Regions from separate parts of the Homo sapiens genome. Here all the other regions are linked to region 4. The links are contacts of gene promoters, found by promoter capture Hi-C in blood cells and fetal thymus (Javierre and others, 2016). All regions are on one chromosome and are shown on one strand. Each heading gives the region's core, a stretch centred on a gene start or on the middle of the fragment in contact. The rest is flanking DNA. Distances are from core to core; before and after follow the strand shown.

Region 1 (2,700 bases), core at 81-2,580, 460 kb after region 4:
CGTGCTTATATTTGCTTCCATTTCTTCATTCTTCTCCTTCCTACTTAACTTTTTGTCCTTTGTTCCATTTTTCCATTTCTTATTCTCTGGTGTCTTGGTGTCTTAACATTTTCTCAGGGCATGAGGGTGAGGTTGGAAATTATGGCAGCACATCCCTATTAGCTGACTCATGCACACTGTTTCTTTAAAATCAAGAGATATGACAATGTCCATTACTTCTCTATTTCCTCCTTCAAGTCTTCAAAACCAATTTTTCCCAGGTTTATCCTTAGTTGCCCAGTGCACATTATAAGTAGAGCTGAAGACCGTTCCATTTTTCCTCTGCCAATGTCTATCTTTCCCCAAAATGCATTCTTCCTGTTTCTTTATTGGAATAAGGATGTTACGTATTTCTAGGGGAGGAAGTTGGGTTCATTAGATCACAATAGGATGACACTGAACCAGGCAATTAAATGAGTTTACTCCTATATATATATATATTTTTTTTTATATATTTCATTATCAGAATGGGTATGAAAGCAATAGGCTAAGTCCATCCTTTGGGTGGGCAGTATTTCTCTTAGATTTGGTAAACCTGTTCAGCTGGAAAAAGTGGGGATAAGCAGCTCTGAACTTTGGAAATAAATCAGGAACTTTGGAAATAAACCCAGTAAAATAACATCAAATGACAGAGTGGGAAAGCCTTAGAAAAACAAATAAGAAAGTATAAGGGTGGGGCCAGGCGTGGAGGCTCATGCCTGTAATCCCAGCACTTTGGGAGGCCAAGGCAGTGGATCACGAGGTCAGGAGTTTGAGACCAGCCTGACCAACATGGTGAAACCCCATCTCTACTAAAAAAAAAATACAAAAATTAGCCAGGCGTGGTGGCACGCACCTGTAATCCCAGCTACTCAGGAGGCTGAGGCAGGAGAATCGCTTGAACCTGGGAGGTGGAGGTTGCAGTGAGCTGAGATAGTGCCACTACATTGTAGCCTGGGCGACAGAGCGAGACTCTGTCTCAAAAAAATAAAGTATAAGGCTGGAAGTAAAGGAAAAACTAAGTATATGAGGTAGAAACAGGGGGATTTAGTAGGGAGTTTTCTGCTGTACATGTGAGCCTTAAAACTGTGTTTAGTCACCAGCAACTTTTGAGTGCTGCTTGTTGTGGAAAGGTTTTTATTTTCTCCTTTTTATGTACCCTGACAAATGGAAAAGGACCCTTAGTGGGCAGGAGGATCCTTGCACACATCATAGATGCTCCATAAATATTTTTTTCTTGGTGAAGGAGTTATTCTAAGGGACTAATCTTTGATACATACCCATTTATCCTTGATCTGCATATAGCAAAGTGCTCGCAATGCCAGACTCTCAAGTGTTATTCAAGGTGATTCATCACCGACATTGGCACCTTCCAAATAGTGACTTGTCCTTTTGGCTCCTGTGTTCATTTGGCAGGCAGATAGTCTTGCAGGCAGTGAATGGAGTGTTCACTCTGTTTACATTTCCCTTCTTAGGATGATACTTTTTTTTTTTTTTTGAGTTGGAGTCTTACTCTTTTGCCCAGGCTGGAGTGCAGTGGCACAATCTCAGCTCACTGCAATTCCACCTGCCGGGTTCAAGCAATTCTCGTGCCTCAGCCTCGTGAGTAGCTGGGACTACAGGTGGGTGCCACCACACCTGGCTAATTTTTGTATTTTTATTAGAGACGGGGTTTCACCATATTGGCCAGGCTGGTCTCGAACTCCTGGCCTCAGATAATCCACCAGCCTCTGTCTCCCAAACTGCTGGGATTACAGGCTTGAGCCACCAGCTACAATGCGTCCCACCATAGGTTGATACTTCTGCTGGGGATTGACTCACTAAGTAAACTGTTCAACCACACTGTTGTTCTTTCCATTTAATAAAATATATTTTAGTCTTTGCTTTACCTTCATGTTTCTTTCTTTTTTTTTTTCTCTGAGACGGAGTCTCGCTGTCACCCAGGCTGGAGTGCAGTGGCCCGATCTCGGCTCACTGCAGCCTCTACCTTCTGGGTTCAAGCAATTCTCTACCTCAGCCTTCTGAGTAGCTGGGATTACAGGCGCGTGCCACCACCTGCTAATTTTTGTAATTTTAGTAGAGACAGGGTTTCACCATCTTGGCCAGGCTGGTCTTGAACTCCTGATCTCGTCATCCACCTGCGTGGACCTCCCAAAGTGCTGGAATTGCAGGCATGAGCCACCACACCCGGCCAGCCACCGTGCCCGGCCCATGTTTCATCAATTGTGGATTAGCACCTGATTTGATACAATGACTTTAAATGTATCCAGCCTTTAAACCTAGTTGGTCTCTAGATTTTTTCAGAAGAGGGCATTTCCCCAGCTAAGGATAAGGGATGTGGTTAAAAAAAAAAATCACCGACTCTTTTGTGATCTCGCTTTAGTCTACAGTCAGGGGGATGGTGTAGGGGATAACTCTGTTATCCAGTGAATTTTGGACTTTAGCACTGATCATATGACTTCTTATCTTGAGTTGTTGATTCCTTTTAAGTTACTGCATTACAGGCCAGCCTTATTTGGTCTAAAATTGGTTACTTTAGTCTGTATTCCCACTAACAGTATATTGAGTATTCTGGTCTGCCCCTTTTTGGCTATCAATAATGAAGGCATATTAGCTGTTGGTCTTTGCCAGTCAGTAATATAGAACAGATTGATATCCTGTTAGGTCTTTACTTGCATTTCG
Region 2 (2,700 bases), core at 179-2,678, 500 kb after region 4:
TTCTTTTCTCCTAGCCAAGTTGGGGAAGGTGTGTGTGCTGTTCTTCTGGGCACCCTGACTCCCATGGCAACAGAGATGCTGGCCAACGGTGATGGGACTGGCTTCCCTGAACTTATGGTTGTGATGGCCACTCTGGCCAGTGCAGGTCAAGGTGCTGGTCACCTTCAGCTTCATAATGCTGCTGTGGATTGGCTGAGCAGATGGTAAGATGATGAAGTTGTATCTGTAGGTTACAACATTGATCTTGAGAAGTGGGTTACTTTCTTTATAGCTCAAAGTGAGTACAGAAGAAATTTGAATCTCTACCCTTTCATTGGAGTTTGGGAGTTGGGTGGGTAGCAAATAGCTCTGTTCACTTTAGACTTCATCTTCATCATTTTCTTAGTAGAGTTTCCTGTTCATTGTTCCCAAGATAATTCTTGGGGAAAGTATGCCAAGTGTTAATGATAATTCTAAGGCCAGAGCACCCCAAGCTATGTAACTATATAGTACTTATGGAGTTTTCTAAGAATGCTTCTGCTTCACAGTGTCCTCAGATTGATTCAAAGTTAATGAAGATGCCTCATTTCGTTGGTTTCTTCGATGATTTTGTGTCTCCTCTTTCCCCTCTTTTTTTTCTTTGGGACAGCAAGAAATACCTGTCACAGAAGAATGTAGTTGAAAAACTGAATGCCAATGTAATGCATGGAAAGGTAAGAAAAGTGAGGAATGACAATGGGGGGTGAAGGGAAAGGTGATTCTCACCTCTGTGGTCAGGTGGAAGTCTCTCGTTCCTATTGAGTTCTGTGCCTGGCTAGCCTACCAAGGATAAGGCTGATAATCTCAAAGACTGGAAATATGTAGTTGCTAACTGTGTGCCTTTAGGCATGTTTTGGCTGGCAAGAAGTGATGGGAAGGAAATATACTGGTAAATAAGCAGACAGAATCTTTCTTAAAACATAGAGTTCCTGCCATCCTAAGATATTGGAATGTTATGGGAAACTGTCTCCCTGCTCAGGCTTTGGAACTGTGCCACTCTGAGTCAGTGTTATAAAAGGCCAAATACAGCCTCCTCAGCTCTAGTCCAGATGCTAAGCTTTGTTTAATTTGCCTGAAGGTTCTGGTTACTCTGGTAAGAAAAGCGGTTTGAAACTGACAGAAATCCTGCATTCAGGCATTTTCTCCTCCTGCCCAACCCATGAACTGGCATAGGTGGCTAGGAACAGATAACTAGCTTCTGAGAACCACTTTGGTACCATTCATTACTCCCTCCTTTTTTGCTGATCTTTATCCTTTCAGCACTGACATGTCAGAGTGCAGAGCAAAGGAACTTAGAAATCTGAGTCTTTGATGCCAATTAATTGGGTTTTCTAGGCAAGCATGAACTATCTGCAATGATTTGCTAGAATTTTTTTCTCTTGATTTCTGAAGGTATTCCTCTCCTGCATTACTTTAAAGCCTGATAATTAAAATGACTTTCACTTAATGGTTAAAAAATGCTAATGTTAGGGGGGAAATGCTAATGGGAGTCTCTTCATACTCTAATCTGGTCTTTTCTTGAATGATTTTAATCAGTTTTTACTCTATTCTTCTAATTTCAATCCTACTTCATCTTACAAGACTTTGTAAAGAGCTGTCTTTGTGCCTAAGAATGAATGAATACATGTTACTTCAGTACAATTTACTGACCAGCTACGTGGGGACGGAGTGGTAAAACCTGGTTAATAAATAAAAACACACTGTTTTTCTTCTCTGCTCTCATACCATTTCTCTGATCTTGAGCTTTATTTGAAAAAGCTTGAGAAAACATGGTTTACATAATGAAACATGGAGAATCTGAAGTTGCTGTGGGGCTTCTCTTACAGCATGTGATGATCTTGGAGTGCACATGCCATATCATGTCTTACTTGGCTGATGTCACGAATGCCCTGAGCCAGAGTAATGGTCAAGGCCCAAGTCATCTCTCAGTGGATGGGGAAGAGCGGGCCATTGAAGTAGACTCAGACTGGGTGGAGGAGTTGGCGGTGGAAGAGGAAGATTCCCAGGCTGAGGATTCAGTAAGTACTAAGTAACCTCGAAGTTAACCTCTCAAGGTAATGACTAACTGGCATGGTACCAAGCTTTTGGCTCTGTTTTCCAGCCTCCTGTGAGCTTCAAAACTTCCTAGTCCTTGTTGCTGCCAGGCCCCAATTTTCTAGGCCTTCAGAGCAAGGCATGGGGATCTAATCTCTTGTGGAAAGGACTTTTTCATAAGCTTTTTCCAGAGTCACTTGTCCTGCTTTGTCAGTCTTTAATTCCAAATGGAATTTTAGGGATAAGTTCTTCATGGGGGGTAGTGGAAGCTCCCCTATAGAGAAAGCATAAGATGTTTTTTCTTAACCACAAACCCCTAAGATCTCACTCACCTGAAGTAACAACAGATTTTCAGCCAGCTAGCTATTTCCAGTTGTGGTAGATTTCCACGGGTCATTTGCGAGTCAACTATTCACCCCGCCATAGGGCGTTGAGGCACATGTGTTTTTGTGGGTGTTTATATGCAGGGATATATTTCGAATTAAAAAGACTTATTATTTTTGAAGGATGAAGATTCTCTTTGCAATAAACTCTGCACTTTTACGATCACACAGAAAGAATTCATGAACCAGCATTGGTAAGGGTAGTTCTTCCTTTAAGGTGAAGATTTGCTGGGCACCGATTGTTGGGACTTCTGAGCTTATTTGC
Region 3 (2,700 bases), core at 192-2,691, 480 kb after region 4:
TAGTTTAGGGAAGCTTGAGTAGAGAAACCTAATCCTGTTGTAGTGAACCCACTGGCATGCCCTCCTGCCTTAGTTTGATGAGAGAATGAATAAGGTAAGTACCTCAGATTCTTTCATAATCAGGTTTGTGGGAACAATGTGAAATACGAAGGGAGGTGTGATTCTTACCGTCCTGTGATTTATGGTTGATAAGGCAAGTATAAATTCGCTCTTGAAAATATTTGGCTTGTTACCAGTAAAATAATGTGAAGTTGTTTTTCTTTCTTTGTTGGGCTCCTTAAAGAAAAATTGGCTGGGCGCGGTGGCTCACACCTGTAATCCCAGCACTTTGGGAGGCTGAGGTGGGCAGATCACAAGGTCAGGAGTTCGAGACCAGCCTGGCCAATATGGTGAAACCCCATCTCTACTAAAAATCAAAAATTAGCCAGGCACATGCCTGTAGCCTGTAGTCCCAGCTACTCGGGAGACTGAGGCAGGAGAATCGCTTGAACCTGGGAGGTGGAGGTTGCGGCGAGCCAATATTGCACCACTGCACTCCAGCCTGGGTGACAGAGCGAGACTCCCTCTCAAAAAAAAAAAAAAAAAAGAAAAAAGAAATCAGTTTTATTGGGGTATAATTTACATGCAATAATGTGAGAAATTCTTAACGGGTTGAATCTATCCAAACATTTGAATCAGTTATTGATGATCAGTTTTGCTCTTATTTTATGTATGCATTTAGATGAGTTTTGATACACAAATGCAATCTTGTAACCATCATCACAATTGGGATATCCTTGTATTCCTTTTGACTTAAGTACTTTTAGGAAGCAGATGCACCAAAAACACTTTTAAAAAATATTTATTTTCGTTACTTTATCTTTCTCTATTCAGACGATGACAGTGAGCCTATTTTGGGGCAATGGTTTGAGGAGACTATTTCTCCCAGTAAAGAGAAAGCAGCACCTCCGCCTCCTCCCCCACCTCCTCCACTGGAAAGCTCTCCTCGGGTTAAAAGCCCCAGTAAGCAGGCCCCTGGTGAGAAGGGCAACATTCTGGCGAGTCGCAAAGATCCTGAGTTGGTAAGAGTAGGTTTCTAAGGTTTAGGGGAAGTGGACATGGGGAGCTAGGGGTATGAGAAGCAGATAATTTGAATGCAAACATTTTGTGGCTTGGATAACTGTAATGTTTAAAGATATTTTTGCTTAGGACTTATATGTCTTGATTATGTGTCATTAAATAACTTACGTGACTGTTACTGTTTCTCTGCTGGCCTTTAGAATCACTTAATGGCTTTGTGACTTTGGGCAAGAATCTGAATTTTTTCTAGCCTTAGTTTTGTCTCCTATCATATGGGAGTGATTGTACCTGCATCTAAAGGTGTTGTGACATCTTAAAGAGAGACTATTTATAAAGTGCTTAGCATAGGTCTGATATATCATCAGTGCTTGCTGTGGTTGAACTGTTGGTTCAACTAGTATTATCTAGTAAGTGTCAGTCCCCGTTCTGATGATGTGAGTGAGTCAGATACAGTTCTTGCCTTCATATATATAGCTTACAGTCAAGGATGTGGACAAAAAACATTTATACAATAATTCAATTTAATTTTAATAGAGAAGAGCTAGGAATTCTATATATGTGTAATAATCATTCATATAGGCTTCAGGATTGAATATATCAGTAGTGAATTGGAGCCGGACAAAGGACCTTAGGAGAACAAAAGAAATGGGTCAGTCTATTTGGAAATCCTGTTTTCATACACTGTTTTGTAACATCTGTTATATTAAACTGGAATGCCATTTTGTGTAAGTAGAATTAGGTGGGAAAGAGAGACTCATAATGAAACTTAGGCCCACTGTAAGTGATTTAAAATCTGATTCTTTCATTCATTGTGTTTATTGCAGGATACCTATGAGCATATTTTATTTTCTATTTGTAATCAGAGTTTATAGGAACGCTGGGCTTATGACCCTGATAAGAGCTTTTTTGTGTGTGTTCCTTTCAGTTCTTAGGTCTGGCTTCCAACATTTTGAACTTCATCACCTCTTCCATGCTGAACTCTCGGAACAATTTTATCCGAAACTATCTGAGTGTATCTCTTTCAGAACACCATATGGCCACCCTAGCCAGTATCATCAAGGAGGTGGACAAAGATGGACTCAAGGGTCAGTAGACAAGATATGTGCCTGATGGATTTTTTTTCTCATGGAGTTTGGCTGTTGGCAGGGAGGTGTGGTGCATTCAATAGCTGCTTAAATAATTGGCTTTTCTACTTGTCTTTAAGGTTCATCAGATGAAGAGTTTGCTGCAGCTCTCTATCACTTCAACCACTCACTGGTAACCTCTGACCTTCAGTCACCTAACCTGCAGGTTTGTGTGTGCTGTGACCATCTAGGCAAGAGCTCATGACACCAGCTTCCATAGGCTGCAGCTCCAATTGTTTGTTTGTTTGTTTTTTTGAGATGGAGTCTTGCTCTGTTACCCAGGCTGGAGTGCAGTGACACGGTCTTGGCTCACTGCAACCTCCACCTCCCAGGTTCAAGCGATTCTCCTGCCTCAGCCTCCAGAGTAGCTGGGATTACAGGTGTGTGCCACCATGGCTGGCTAATTTTTGTATTTTTAGTAGAGACAGGGTTTCACCTTGTTGGCCAGGCTGGTCTCAAACTCCTGACCTCAGGTGATCCGCCCGCCTCAGCCTCCCAAAGTGCTGGGATTATAGGC
Region 4 (2,700 bases), core at 189-2,688:
GCAGGCTGGCCAGCAGGCGGCACTGGCCAGGGACGGGTGGCCGTGCGTGGCCCAGCTCGTGCCAGCCCAGCAGCAGGGGCAGGAAGGAGGCGAGAGCGGCGAGGCTCCAGGCGCCCAGGACTAGGGCCAGGGCACGCAGGGGCGTCATGCGCAGCTTGTAGCGCAGCGGCGAGAGGATGAGCAGGTAGCGGTCCAGGCTGATGAGGCAGAGGTTGAGGATGGAGGCGCTGCAGCACATCACGTCGAAGGCGGTCCAGAGCAGGCAGAGGCCGCGCGCCAGCACCCAGCGCCCGTACAGCGCGTTCAGCATGGCCGGCGGCATCACCACCAGCCCCACCATCAGGTCAGACGTGAAGAGCGACACCAGGAAGAAGTTGGACGTGTTGCGCAGCGCGGGCTGAGTGCAGATGAGCGCGATCAGCAGCGAGTTGGCCGCCGCCGTCAGCGCGATGACCACGCACAGCGCGGCCGCCACCCAGCCGCTGCCCCCCGGGGCCGACGGCGGCCCTGCCCCCCAGGCCGGGGTGCTATTGGCGGTTGGGCCCGGCTCTGGGACCATGAGGACCGAGGGTGGACGGCAAGGGAGTGATAGGGTGGCGGGAAAGCAGATGAGGGCCCCGGCGAAGCGCAGGCTGGACGGGGACCGTCCGTGAGAACAGACCGCGACTCACCACGCCCCCCGGGGGAGGTGAGTGGGGGGACATGGGCGGGGGCGCTGGGTCGCGCTAGGTCAGGGGGCAGCGACTACAGGAGGACACAGTGTGGCTATTTGGGCGCCCTCGGGGATGGGGCAGGAACTCCTGGAGCAAACGGGTTGGAAGTTTGGGGAGGGGCACCCGATGAGCCGAGGCCCCTGAAGGAAGCGGCGGGAAGTCAAGCAGAGGTCGGATGGGCTCCCTGGGGTGGGAGCAGAGCCCCCTGGAGGGGGCGGGCGGCAAGATAGGGGAGGGGCGTCCGGCCGGGTCAGAGTGCGGGGAAGTGGGAACGCGGGGAGGTGGGTGAGGGGGGTGAATGGGCGCTCTCGGGCCGGAGCAGGCTCCCCGCGGCCGGTGGGCGTGTGGGGTACCAGGGCGGGGGCCTAGGGGCCGGAGCAAAGCCGCCCCTGGGAAAGGCAGGTCTCAGCTGGCGCGGAGGCACCGGGATCCGGCGCACACGGCCTGTGCGGCGCGGGGGTTCGCCGGGGCCGCCAGGCCCCGCGGGAAGAGGAGGGCAGCGGCCGCGCGGCGCCCCCTCCCCACCCGGCAGCAGGGTCGCCTCCGTCTCCCGCCCGCACTGGTACCTGGGGCGCTCTGGCTGCTCCGCCGCCTGCGACTGCGGCAAGCGCCGCGGGGCTGCGAGAGGAAGAGGCGGCCGCGGGCCGGGCGGGCGGCGGGACCGGGTCTCCCGAGCCCGGGAGGCGCCGCGAGGGGCCCGCACGCGCGGAGGAGAGGCCGGGTGCAGCCTGGAGCGCGCGGTCCCCGCGCCGCGGAGCGTGCGCCCCGCCTCGCGGTGGGCGGGGAGAGCCGAGCCCTGGCCCTGCAGGAGGGCGGGGTCCCGGCACCCCGGGCCTGTGGGCCGAAGATCAGAGCGCCCCAGCTGCGAGGGGTCACCTCCCGGGCTGTGGCAGCCCCCACACCCTCAGATGCCCCTCCCAACCCACACGTGGCGGCGGCGCAGGCGGAACTGGGAGCAGGGGGCTGTGACCTGCCCTTATCCAGGGGCTGCTCTCTAATGGGTGCCTGCCCACTCACAACGGGGTCACCGGGCTTTCAGGGGAGCCAGGAGTTGGGAAATATTGGACAAATCGCCTGACACCCCTCTGGGCCTCAGTTGCCATATCTGTAAAATGGGTTAGTAATTCTGGGCATTCTTCACCGTTAGTTTGAGCAAGAAGCTAACCTTCCCCAGGGCCTTTCCCGCAGAAACCATCCCGATCCCCAAAGGGGCCAGGTACTAAGGATGAAGTCCCTGAGCTGTTGGCGCTCCTAGTCTAACAGAGCGTGAACAGATTTGAGAATCCCCAGGCCAGGTGTGTTAAGAGTCGCTGCAGGCAGAGGCGTGGGGTGTGGTTTCCCCTGGGTGTGACCTCCCTCTGTACGTCTCCCCTCTGGCTGAGAAGAGTCTCTGCCTAACACTGCTGTGCAGGTTAATACTGTTATTCATTCATTCATTGAACAGATACTTCAATGCATCTTTTAAGGCGCATCCACTAGATGTCAGGCACTGTTCTGACCCATCAGGACACTACAGTGGCCAAAACAAAGATCCGCACCTCCATGGAGCTTACATTCTAGTGGAAGAAACAGACAATAAACAATAAGCATAATCAACAGAGAAAGTGGGCCCAGCGAGGTGGCTCACGCCTGTAATCCCAGCACTTTGGGAGGCGGAGGTGGGCAGATCACCTGAGGTCAGGAGTTCGAGACCAGCCTGACCAACATGGTAAAACCCCGTCTCTATCAAAAATACAAAAATTAGCTGGGCGTGGTGGCGGGAGCCTGTAATCCCAGCTATTCGGGAGGCTGAGGCAGGAGAATTGCTTGAACCTGGGAGGCAGAGGTTCCAGTGAGCCAAGATTGTGCCACTGCACACTCCAGCCTGGGTGACAGAGCAAGACTCTGTCAAAAAAAAAAAAAAAAAAAAAAAAAAAAAGGAAAGAAAGAAAGAGAGAAAGGAAAGAAAGAGAAAGAAAGAAGAGAAAGAGAAAAAGAAAATGTAGTA
Region 5 (2,700 bases), core at 172-2,671, 380 kb after region 4:
TTCACCAGCACCAGTTAGAATAAGTATACGCCCAGACGGTTAAAGTCCTAGAATTGTTAAGGTCTGAAATAAGGGTTCTGGAAGGGTAATTTTGAAGTCTCTTCTTTTGACACATCCACCCTCTCCCCCGGGGCCCCTCTCCTTACAGGGCATGTACAATGCCATCACCCGGCAGGTGGAAACGGAGCTCTTCCCCTGCCTCAGGCACTTTGGACTGAGGTTCTATGCCTTCAACCCTCTGGCTGGTACGTGGAGCATTCCTGGCCCTGTCTCAGCCTATTCCCGACCCACAGATGCCCAGCCCAGGACCTGGGAAGCAAGGAGGGTTTGACAAACTTTGACCTCTGAGGTCAAAGACGTAAAGGCTGCATCTTCAGCCCTCCTGGGTCCCTGCCCCTCCCCTAGACCAGAGCCCTGAGGGATGTGGCAGCTTCTGGGGCACTCTAGGCCCCGGGGCTGATTGCTGCTTTCCCTCAGGGGGCCTGCTGACCGGCAAGTACAAGTATGAGGACAAGAATGGGAAACAGCCCGTGGGCCGCTTCTTTGGGAATACCTGGGCAGAGATGTACAGGAATCGGTAAGCTGTGGGTGCTTGGTGTGGATGGCTGGGGTGGGGTCAGCTTTATGTGGAATGAAGTCCTGGGCTGCTCCTGGGGTAAGGCCTTTCCTCGCTGCTGCACCTACTCCCCTGAATTTCTTCGGGAATTTCCAAACCCTCCATCGGTTTTCTTGTTGTCTTGGGACCTCCAGGAGGAAAGGAGACTCCCTGGACCTCGGGGTCTTGAAGTCGTTGCTCTTTCCTGAGCAATCACCTGCTAGGAAGGAAAGAAGGAGCTCTGGAGGGAGGTCCAGGAGGCCTGGGGCTGAGTCCTGACCCATCTTAGCGGCCTTTGTGTCCCTAAGGAAAATAAGAGCAGGCTGATGAGTCCTCAGGAATAAAGATTTGTTGAGGTCTCTGCTGAGGGGCCCAGCATCCTGAGTGGTTCTCTTGCCCAGCAAAGTGGGAGACCCATGGCTAGAGAGAACACCTGCCCCTCAGGGCTGCAGGGTGTGGGGTGGGACAGTGGCCCTGGTTGGCTCTTTGGTTGTGGCTCCCAATGTGGCCCTGACACCTGTGCCACCGTCCCCCCTTCCCAGCTACTGGAAGGAGCACCACTTTGAGGGCATTGCCCTGGTGGAGAAGGCCCTGCAGGCCGCGTATGGCGCCAGCGCCCCCAGCATGACCTCGGCCACCCTCCGGTGGATGTACCACCACTCACAGCTGCAGGTAACCAGTGACCCTGTGCGCTCAGCTTCTTCCCTTCCAGGGGAACCAGCAATATCTTTAGATGAAGGCTGAAACATTTGTTTATCGATTCCTCTGAAATTTCTCTTTCTTTCAACTCTCACAAACATTCTTCCCACTGGTCTTTTTCTATGTTTTTTTTTTGGGGGGACAGAGTCTCACTCTGTCACCCAGGCTGGAGTGCAGTGGCATGATCTCGGGTCACTGCAACTTCTGCCTCTTGGGCCGAAGCAACTCTCTTGTCTCAGCCTCCCCAGTAGCTGGGATTACAGGCGTGCGCCACCATGCCCAGCTAATTGTTTGTATTTGTAGTAGAGACAGGGTTTCACCATGTTGCCCAGGCTGGTCTCAAATTCCTGAACTCAGACAATTCGCCCTCCTCAGCCTCTGAAAGTGCTGGGATTATAGGCGTGAGCCCCTGCGCTCGGCCTTCTCATTGGTCTTTGATGGTATCTGAGTGCCAGGCTTTGTAATGAGAGCTTCATTGCAGGGATTTCATTATTCCTTCAGCTTTATGAAATGACTATCCCAGTGTTATTGACGAGGAAACTGAGTTTCACCCAGCTATGAAAGGGGCAGACATTTTAACACAGGTTTAACTGTAAAGCCCACTAGTCTCATCCTTTTGGTGGGAGCTGGAGTTTCCCTCTCTCAGTGCCTCATGTCTTCCTCACTTATATCCAACTCCAGCCTTAGATGTTGCAATAGTGTCTGGCATATATACAGTAGGTGCTCAATAAATGGGAGCTAAGTGCTCTACATAATTTTTCACACCCATAACCATGTTGAAAATAGAAAAGAGGATTGAATCTCAGAGAGGTTTAATAACTTAGCCGCGTTTACACAGCTGCTGGGGGGCAGAACTGGGCTGTGAATGTAGGTCTGTCTGGAAGCGTCGTGTGGCAGTAGGGGAAGGGATACAGGTTTTGCGTCACATGGGTACAGCTATCCAAGGCACCTTAAGTTCTTTCTGGACATATGGGATACAAGAGATCCCAAATCTCAGCAGGGAGGTGGCTGGGACGGCTGTGAGTAGAGTCGCTGTGCAGCAGAAGAGGGTTGAAGTCTGGCCGTCTCCCTTGCAGGGTGCCCACGGGGACGCGGTCATCCTGGGCATGTCCAGCCTGGAGCAGCTGGAGCAGAACTTGGCAGCGGCAGAGGAAGGGCCCCTGGAGCCGGCTGTCGTGGACGCCTTTAATCAAGCCTGGCATTTGGTTACTCACGAATGTCCCAACTACTTCCGCTAGGCCCATCGTTTCTCAGGCTGCCCAAGGCTCTTCTGTAACATCTTTTGTTACTCACATTTTCTTTAATTTAGAACTGCCTCAGTAAATTCTTAGGGATGGAAGTATTTGGACAAAAACCTAATAGAAGAGTCACCACCAAATGAAGAATAAAACTCCCAGGGTGCTGTG
Region 6 (2,700 bases), core at 175-2,674, 340 kb after region 4:
CGCCCCGCTGGGCTGTAAGCTTCTGGGGCACTCATGGCTGTTCTTGCTCACTCACGGCTCCAGGGTCCAGCTGGGTGCCTGGCACACAGGAGGTGTGCACGACTGGGTGAACAGATGGAGGGAGGGAGGGAGGGAGGGAGGGATGGATGGATGGACGGATGGATGAAGGGAGGAAGAGACGGATGAGTGCTGACGCTGTGTGCAGGCAGAAGCTTCCTTGCCCACACCCCGCCACCTGCCCCACACGCCCTGAAGGATACGATGGTGTCGAGCAGCAGCACGCCCAGGCTGCCCACAAGCCAGGGCAGGTGGTGCAGCAGGTAGCTGCCCTCGCTCTGGCCCTCCTCGGGGTTTTTGAGCAGCACGCTCAGCCCATACAGCGTGTTCCCCAGCATCACCAGCGCGAACAGAGAGTAGGAGATCCCCTGGGTGGACTTCCGGAGGAACTGGGGCAGGAGGAGGTCAGGTCAGAGACCTCGAACAGGCCTCTTGTCACTCTGGATTGTAACTGTCCACATGTCCACCTGCCCCACCACAGTGCACCTGCTCTGAGCCAATCTTTCCCTGGGTGCCCAGGGATATGGGCCCGACACACAGAAGAGCCTCCTCCCACCCACAGACAAGCCCCCCCAGGCCCCTGCCCAGGTCCACGGGAGACCGTGGCTGTGCCAGGCCTGTGGCCCCACACCACCCTGCATTCCACCCCACACAGGCTCTAGCTGCCCAGCAAGCCTCCCCTCCCCGACTCCCCAGCTTCTCCTCTCCCCTCAGGCCTCCAAGCTCAGCCCCTCACCTTCCCCTGACCTCCCACTCCCCCAAGACACACATGGGCCTCTTGTAGCCTGGCTGGCAGGCCACGCCACGCCCATTTTCCAGAAGCAGAAATGGAGGCTCGGAGATTGGATTAACTTGCCCAAGCCAACAGCGGGAGTAGACCAGACTTTCTGAACCAAGGCTCCTATGCTGTGCTACTCCTTAGCCCAGAGGGCCCGGGTGGCCAGGCCAGCTCTCCTCTACTCGGCCCCACCCAGCCCCTGCTGGAGGCTCACGTTGGTGCGGATCTGAGGCAGCCGGGAAAGCAGGTACAACACGCTGGAGATGGAGCCGATGACGAAGCCAATGACTTCCTGCCGGGTGAAGGGCTGTGGGGCAGAAGGGGGCACTTGGTGTCTCGTAGGAGCCAGAGGTGATCCCCCACCCCATTTAGCACCCATGAGGCTGTGCAGGGGAGAGCCCTGGGGATGAGCCAGCCTCCATCCCTTCGACCGCCACGCCCACGCCTCACCTTGCTGCCCGACTCCACGGACAGGAGCGCCCGCCCCCGGAAGGCTTCCCTAGGGGCAGCCACGGGCCCAGCAGCACTCAGCAGCGGTGTGGCGCACGCCATCCCCATGAGGAACAACAGCACGGAGTTGATGGGGGCAGACACTGCACACAAGGCAGGGGGAAGCTGAGGTTAGATGGCTGAGTGGCAGCGGTTGTCGGGGGAGGGTGCTAAGTCCTGGCCTTGCCCCTCAGGGGCTGTGTGACCTTGGGCAAGTGACCTAACCTCTCTGAGCTTTCATTCTTCATCTGTCGAATGGGTACAACAACAGTACCCTTCTCCTAGAGTTATAAAGGTGAAACGCTGAGGGCAGGGAGGTCAGGAGGGGGTTACACGAAGCAGGAACGCTGATGAGACAACTTCCTCCCCAGGTCCCTCCCCGTGTCTGTATAGCCTCAAGCTGACCTTGTCTCCTGCTCCTCCTGAAGGCTGGGGCAGAGGCAGCCTGTGTGACTTGCCCTCGTTTCCCCAGCTCCAAGCCCAGGGCCGGACACAGAGGAGGAGCTGGAGCTGTGTCTGCTGAATGAGCCCCTGGGCGAGAGGAACCGGCCTGTGGTCTGGGCCAGGACGCGCTCACTGCCCTCAAGCCTCTATCTTGGCCAGTTAAGGCTCAGGCTCTTAGATAAGGCCCGGGGAAGGCTTTCCGAGGTTTGGGTTATCACCCAGCCATGGGAAACCCGCTTCCTCCCACACTCCAGGCGCCCCCCCCCACAACTGCCCCCTGCTGCTGGTAGAGCATCTGACAGAGAGCGGTCCCCATACTCACACAGAGAGGGGCGCGTCCTGAACTTGTAGTAAAAGTACAGCGTCAGCATCACCAGGTCTGCCAAGACATAATACACAGCCGTGTAGGTCTGTAAGAGATGCAGGGGGCCCAGGGGTTGGCGCAGTCCCAGGATCTGAGACCACGCCCCGGCAGCCCTCTGTCATATCCCAGCTGGGTGACCCGGACCAAGTCACTTCTCCTCTCTGAGCTTCTGTTTCCTTATCTGGCAAGGAAGAACTCCCAGTTCCCACCTGGCAGAATGACAGAACAGGTGGGCGAAAGACCCAGGAAAGGATCTAGCCCAGGAGGGGCCAATGAGCTGGTGGTCAGCGCTAGCAGTCAGGACAAAGTGGGACTCCGCGGTGAAGTGATGGCTCTGGTTTGGCCTGACACCAGGGCAGTCAGAACTTTCTGGTCCCACATGGGAAGACAATGCCTTCCTGATTGGGAGCCCCAGCTCTGCCTGCCCACAGGAGCAGGATGGCATCTGGGCCTCCCACGGAAAAACTCCCTTTCTCCTCGAGGGGCCCACCCTCTGAAAGCTTCGCCAGCACTCCAGCACCCTGGAGGTGGAAGACCCCGAAACCTTCCTGTTAGACATGCTCATATT
Region 7 (2,700 bases), core at 1-2,500, 360 kb after region 4:
ATAGTATTTTGCAAATCACATATCTGTTAAGAATCTTGTATCTATTCTAGCTATAGGACTCTTACAACTTAATAAAAGAGAAAACCCACCTGGGTGCACTGGCTCACGCCTGTAATCCCAGCACTTTGGGAGGCCAGGCGGACGGATCACTTAAGCCCAGGAGTTCAAGACCAGCTTGGGCAACACAGCAAAACCCTGTCTCTACAAAAAATACCAAAATAATTAGTCGGGTATGGTGGCGGGCACCTGTGGTCCCAGCTAATCGAGAGGCAGAGGTGGGAGGATCTCTTGGGCCCAGGAGGTGGAGGCTGCAGTGAGCCAAAATCAGACCATTGCACTCCAGCCTGGGCAACAGAGCAAGACCCTACCTCAAAAAAGAAAAAAAAAAAAGAAAAGAAAGAAATCCCAATTAAACAATGGGCAAATTATTGGAATAGACCTTTTTCCAGAGGGCATACAGGTGGTCAGTAACCACATGGAAAGCTGCTCAAAATCAGTACTTATCAGGGAAAAGCAAATCAAAACCCCTTCAAATCTGCTAAGCACTAGGATCATCAGAGTCAATAAAATACAGAAAATAACAAGTGTTGAGGGTTTGGAGAAATGGGAGACTTAGGACACCGCCATTGAGACTGTAAAACGGTGCAACCATTTTGGAAAACATTCTGGCAGTTTTTCAAAAGATTAAGCATTTATATGACCCAGAAATTTCACTCCCTAGGTATACCTAGAAGAAATGAGGCTGGGCGCAGTGTCTCACGTCTGTAATCCTAGCACTTTGGGAGGCCGAGATGGGCAGATCACCTGAGGTCAGGAGTTCAAGACCAGCCTGGCCAACATGGTGAAACTCCATCTCTACTAAAAATACAAAAATTAGCCAGGCGTGGTGGCACACACCTGTAATCCCAACTACTTGGGAGGCTGAGGCAGGAGAAGCGCTTGAACCTGGGAGGCGGAGGTTGCTGTGAGCCGAAATCTTGCCGCAGCACTCCAGCCTGGGTGACAGAGTGAGACTCTGTCTCAAAAAAAAGAAAAAAAGAAATATATGTCCTTATTAAAAATTACGTGAATGTTATAGCAGCATTATTCATAATAGCCAGAAAGTGGAAACTGCCCAAATGTCAATCTTAATAGGTGAATGGATAAACAAAATATCTGTATGTACAATGGAACATTTTTCAAAAAAAAAAAGGAATTAAGTATGAAACATCTACAATGTGGATGAACCTTAAAAACATGTTAAGTGAAAGAAGCCAGTCACAAAAGGCCTCATATTGTATGATTCCATTTATATGAAGTATCTGGAATAAGCAAATCTATTAGACACAGAAAGTAGATGAGTGGTTGCCTAGGACTGAGAGGGAGTTTGGGAGGAAATGGAGATTCACTGCTACTGAGTACAGAGTTTCTTTTGGGGAGGTGATAAAAATGCTCTGAAATTGACTGTGGTGGTTGTACAATTCAGAATACACTAAACACCATTAAATTATACACTTTAAGTGGGTCAGTTGTATATAGTGCCTCAATAATATGTAATAAAACAATCAATTAGCTCAGAAATCTGTTAGAGCAGGGCTCAGCAGGGAAGCCTCATCTGTTCCTCAGTGTCTCAGAGGTGATCTAGCAGCTGGAGGCTAGGGTTGCCTGAAGACATTCACTCAAGCATGTGGCAGTTGCTGCTGAGGGCCAGCTGGAATATCAGCTGCTGTCATCAACCGGCACACACGTGACCTCTGCATGTGGCTTCCAAGGGAGCACATCCCAGGCAAACTAGGCAGAAGCCATGTGGCCTTTTATGTCCCAGCCTCAGAAGTCCATAACATCACTCTTGTGTCCTGGGAGGAGAGTCAAAGATACCTGTGCAAAGAGCACGTGAGAGAATGGAGTGGTTATCTTTGGAAAATAAACTGTAACACTTGGAGCAACAGTCCTGAGTGGAGAAGGTGAGCCCCGGGACCTGCCAGGAGACTGTGTCTTGACTATCCCCATCAGAGATGCATTTTCTGCTATGTCACATCCCATCCGTTAGAATCTTCCGGATACTATATCTCATAGTTGATGGTCTCTTGAATTCAGCAATTTCATATCTAAAGAGATTCTTGAAGACACCATGTTGTACACCTTAAATATATATACAATTTTTATTTGTTAATTAAAAAATAAATAAGTGAGGCCAGGCGCAGTGGGTCACGCCTGGAATCCCAGCACTTTGGGAGGCCGAGGCAGGTGGATCACGAGGTCAGGAGTTCAAGACCAGCCTGGCCAATATGGTGAAACCCCGTCTCTACTAAAAATACAAAAATTAGCCGGGCGAGGTAACAGGTGCCTGTAGTCCCAGCTACTCAGGAGGCTGAGGTGGAAGAATTGCTTGAACCCAGGAGGCCAAGGTTGCAGTGAGCTGAGATTGCGCCACTGCACTCCAGCCTGGGTGACAGAGCGAGACTCCGTCTCAAAAAAAAATAATAAGTAAGTGAGAAGGAACAAAAAAATCTAAAGAAGCAGAGCTGGATCTGGAGAGCATCTCATATATTTAATCATCCTCAAACTAAGGAAGCTGTTCTGTGCTGTATGAAAGACTGAAGGAGGAGGGGGCATCGATTTTTTATTTTATTTTATTTATTTTTTATTTATTATTATTTTTTTGAGACAGAGTCTCACTTTGTTGCCCAGGCTGGAGTGTAGTGGCATGATCTCGGCTCA

Evidence for each region. The method cuts DNA at HindIII sites, captures the fragments that hold promoters and counts their contacts. A CHiCAGO score of 5 or more calls a contact.
Region 1: a contact is called between a fragment that was not itself captured here and the fragment with the promoter of HTR6 in region 4, in 1 of 17 cell types (fetal thymus). The highest score is 5.6, in fetal thymus.
Region 2: a fragment that was not itself captured here is called in contact with the fragment with the promoter of HTR6 in region 4 in 3 of 17 cell types (naive CD4 T cells, naive B cells and total B cells); the score reaches 5.7 in naive CD4 T cells.
Region 3: a contact is called between a fragment that was not itself captured here and the fragment with the promoter of HTR6 in region 4, in 5 of 17 cell types (total CD4 T cells, naive CD4 T cells, naive CD8 T cells and 2 more). The highest score is 7.1, in total CD4 T cells.
Region 5: a fragment that was not itself captured here is called in contact with the fragment with the promoter of HTR6 in region 4 in 4 of 17 cell types (non-activated CD4 T cells, neutrophils, naive B cells and 1 more); the score reaches 5.8 in non-activated CD4 T cells.
Region 6: a fragment that was not itself captured here is called in contact with the fragment with the promoter of HTR6 in region 4 in 8 of 17 cell types (total CD8 T cells, megakaryocytes, total CD4 T cells and 5 more); the score reaches 7.4 in total CD8 T cells.
Region 7: a fragment that was not itself captured here is called in contact with the fragment with the promoter of HTR6 in region 4 in 1 of 17 cell types (non-activated CD4 T cells); the score reaches 5.2 in non-activated CD4 T cells.

Annotation. Positions count from the first base shown.
Region 1 is chr1:19,202,316-19,205,015 of GRCh38, reverse strand. All of the region lies in intron 1 of UBR4 (ubiquitin protein ligase E3 component n-recognin 4), which reads left to right. Among named protein-coding and RNA genes, the nearest start is that of UBR4, 6.6 kb to the left of the region's middle. RefSeq lists an enhancer at 2,178-2,679. The HindIII fragment of the contact is 2,944 bases long and covers 1-2,700 here.
Region 2 is chr1:19,161,756-19,164,455 of GRCh38, reverse strand. It overlaps UBR4 (ubiquitin protein ligase E3 component n-recognin 4), which reads left to right. Exons shown (of 106, transcript NM_020765.3): 33 at 15-203; 34 at 629-692; 35 at 1,845-2,036; 36 at 2,559-2,629. Among named protein-coding and RNA genes, the nearest start is that of UBR4, 47 kb to the left of the region's middle. RefSeq lists an enhancer at 2,506-2,700. The HindIII fragment of the contact is 701 bases long and covers 1,078-1,778 here.
Region 3 is chr1:19,183,460-19,186,159 of GRCh38, reverse strand. UBR4 (ubiquitin protein ligase E3 component n-recognin 4) reads left to right here. Exons shown (of 106, transcript NM_020765.3): 15 at 874-1,061; 16 at 1,985-2,144; 17 at 2,264-2,349. Among named protein-coding and RNA genes, the nearest start is that of UBR4, 25 kb to the left of the region's middle. The HindIII fragment of the contact is 2,852 bases long and covers 16-2,700 here.
Region 4 is chr1:19,663,613-19,666,312 of GRCh38, reverse strand. It overlaps HTR6 (5-hydroxytryptamine receptor 6), which reads right to left and starts at 1,438. Exons shown (of 3, transcript NM_000871.3): 1 at 1-1,438. The coding sequence starts at 559. RefSeq lists enhancers at 1-643, 644-1,616 and a silencer at 1,395-1,624. The HindIII fragment of the contact is 8,359 bases long and covers 1-2,700 here.
Region 5 is chr1:19,282,563-19,285,262 of GRCh38, reverse strand. It overlaps AKR7A3 (aldo-keto reductase family 7 member A3), which reads left to right. Exons shown (of 7, transcript NM_012067.3): 4 at 149-245; 5 at 478-577; 6 at 1,138-1,267; 7 at 2,371-2,690. The coding sequence ends at 2,532. Among named protein-coding and RNA genes, the nearest start is that of AKR7A3, 4.9 kb to the left of the region's middle. RefSeq lists an enhancer at 761-1,636. The HindIII fragment of the contact is 2,847 bases long and covers 1-2,700 here.
Region 6 is chr1:19,324,973-19,327,672 of GRCh38, reverse strand. SLC66A1 (solute carrier family 66 member 1) reads right to left here. Exons shown (of 8, transcript NM_001040125.2): 4 at 2,091-2,178; 5 at 1,286-1,428; 6 at 1,050-1,142; 7 at 261-446. Among named protein-coding and RNA genes, the nearest start is that of SLC66A1, 14 kb to the right of the region's middle. The HindIII fragment of the contact is 2,420 bases long and covers 215-2,634 here.
Region 7 is chr1:19,299,379-19,302,078 of GRCh38, reverse strand. LOC124903867 (a long non-coding RNA gene) reads right to left here. Exons shown (of 3, transcript XR_007065521.1): 2 at 1-201. Among named protein-coding and RNA genes, the nearest start is that of AKR7A2, 11 kb to the left of the region's middle. The HindIII fragment of the contact is 8,280 bases long and covers 1-2,700 here.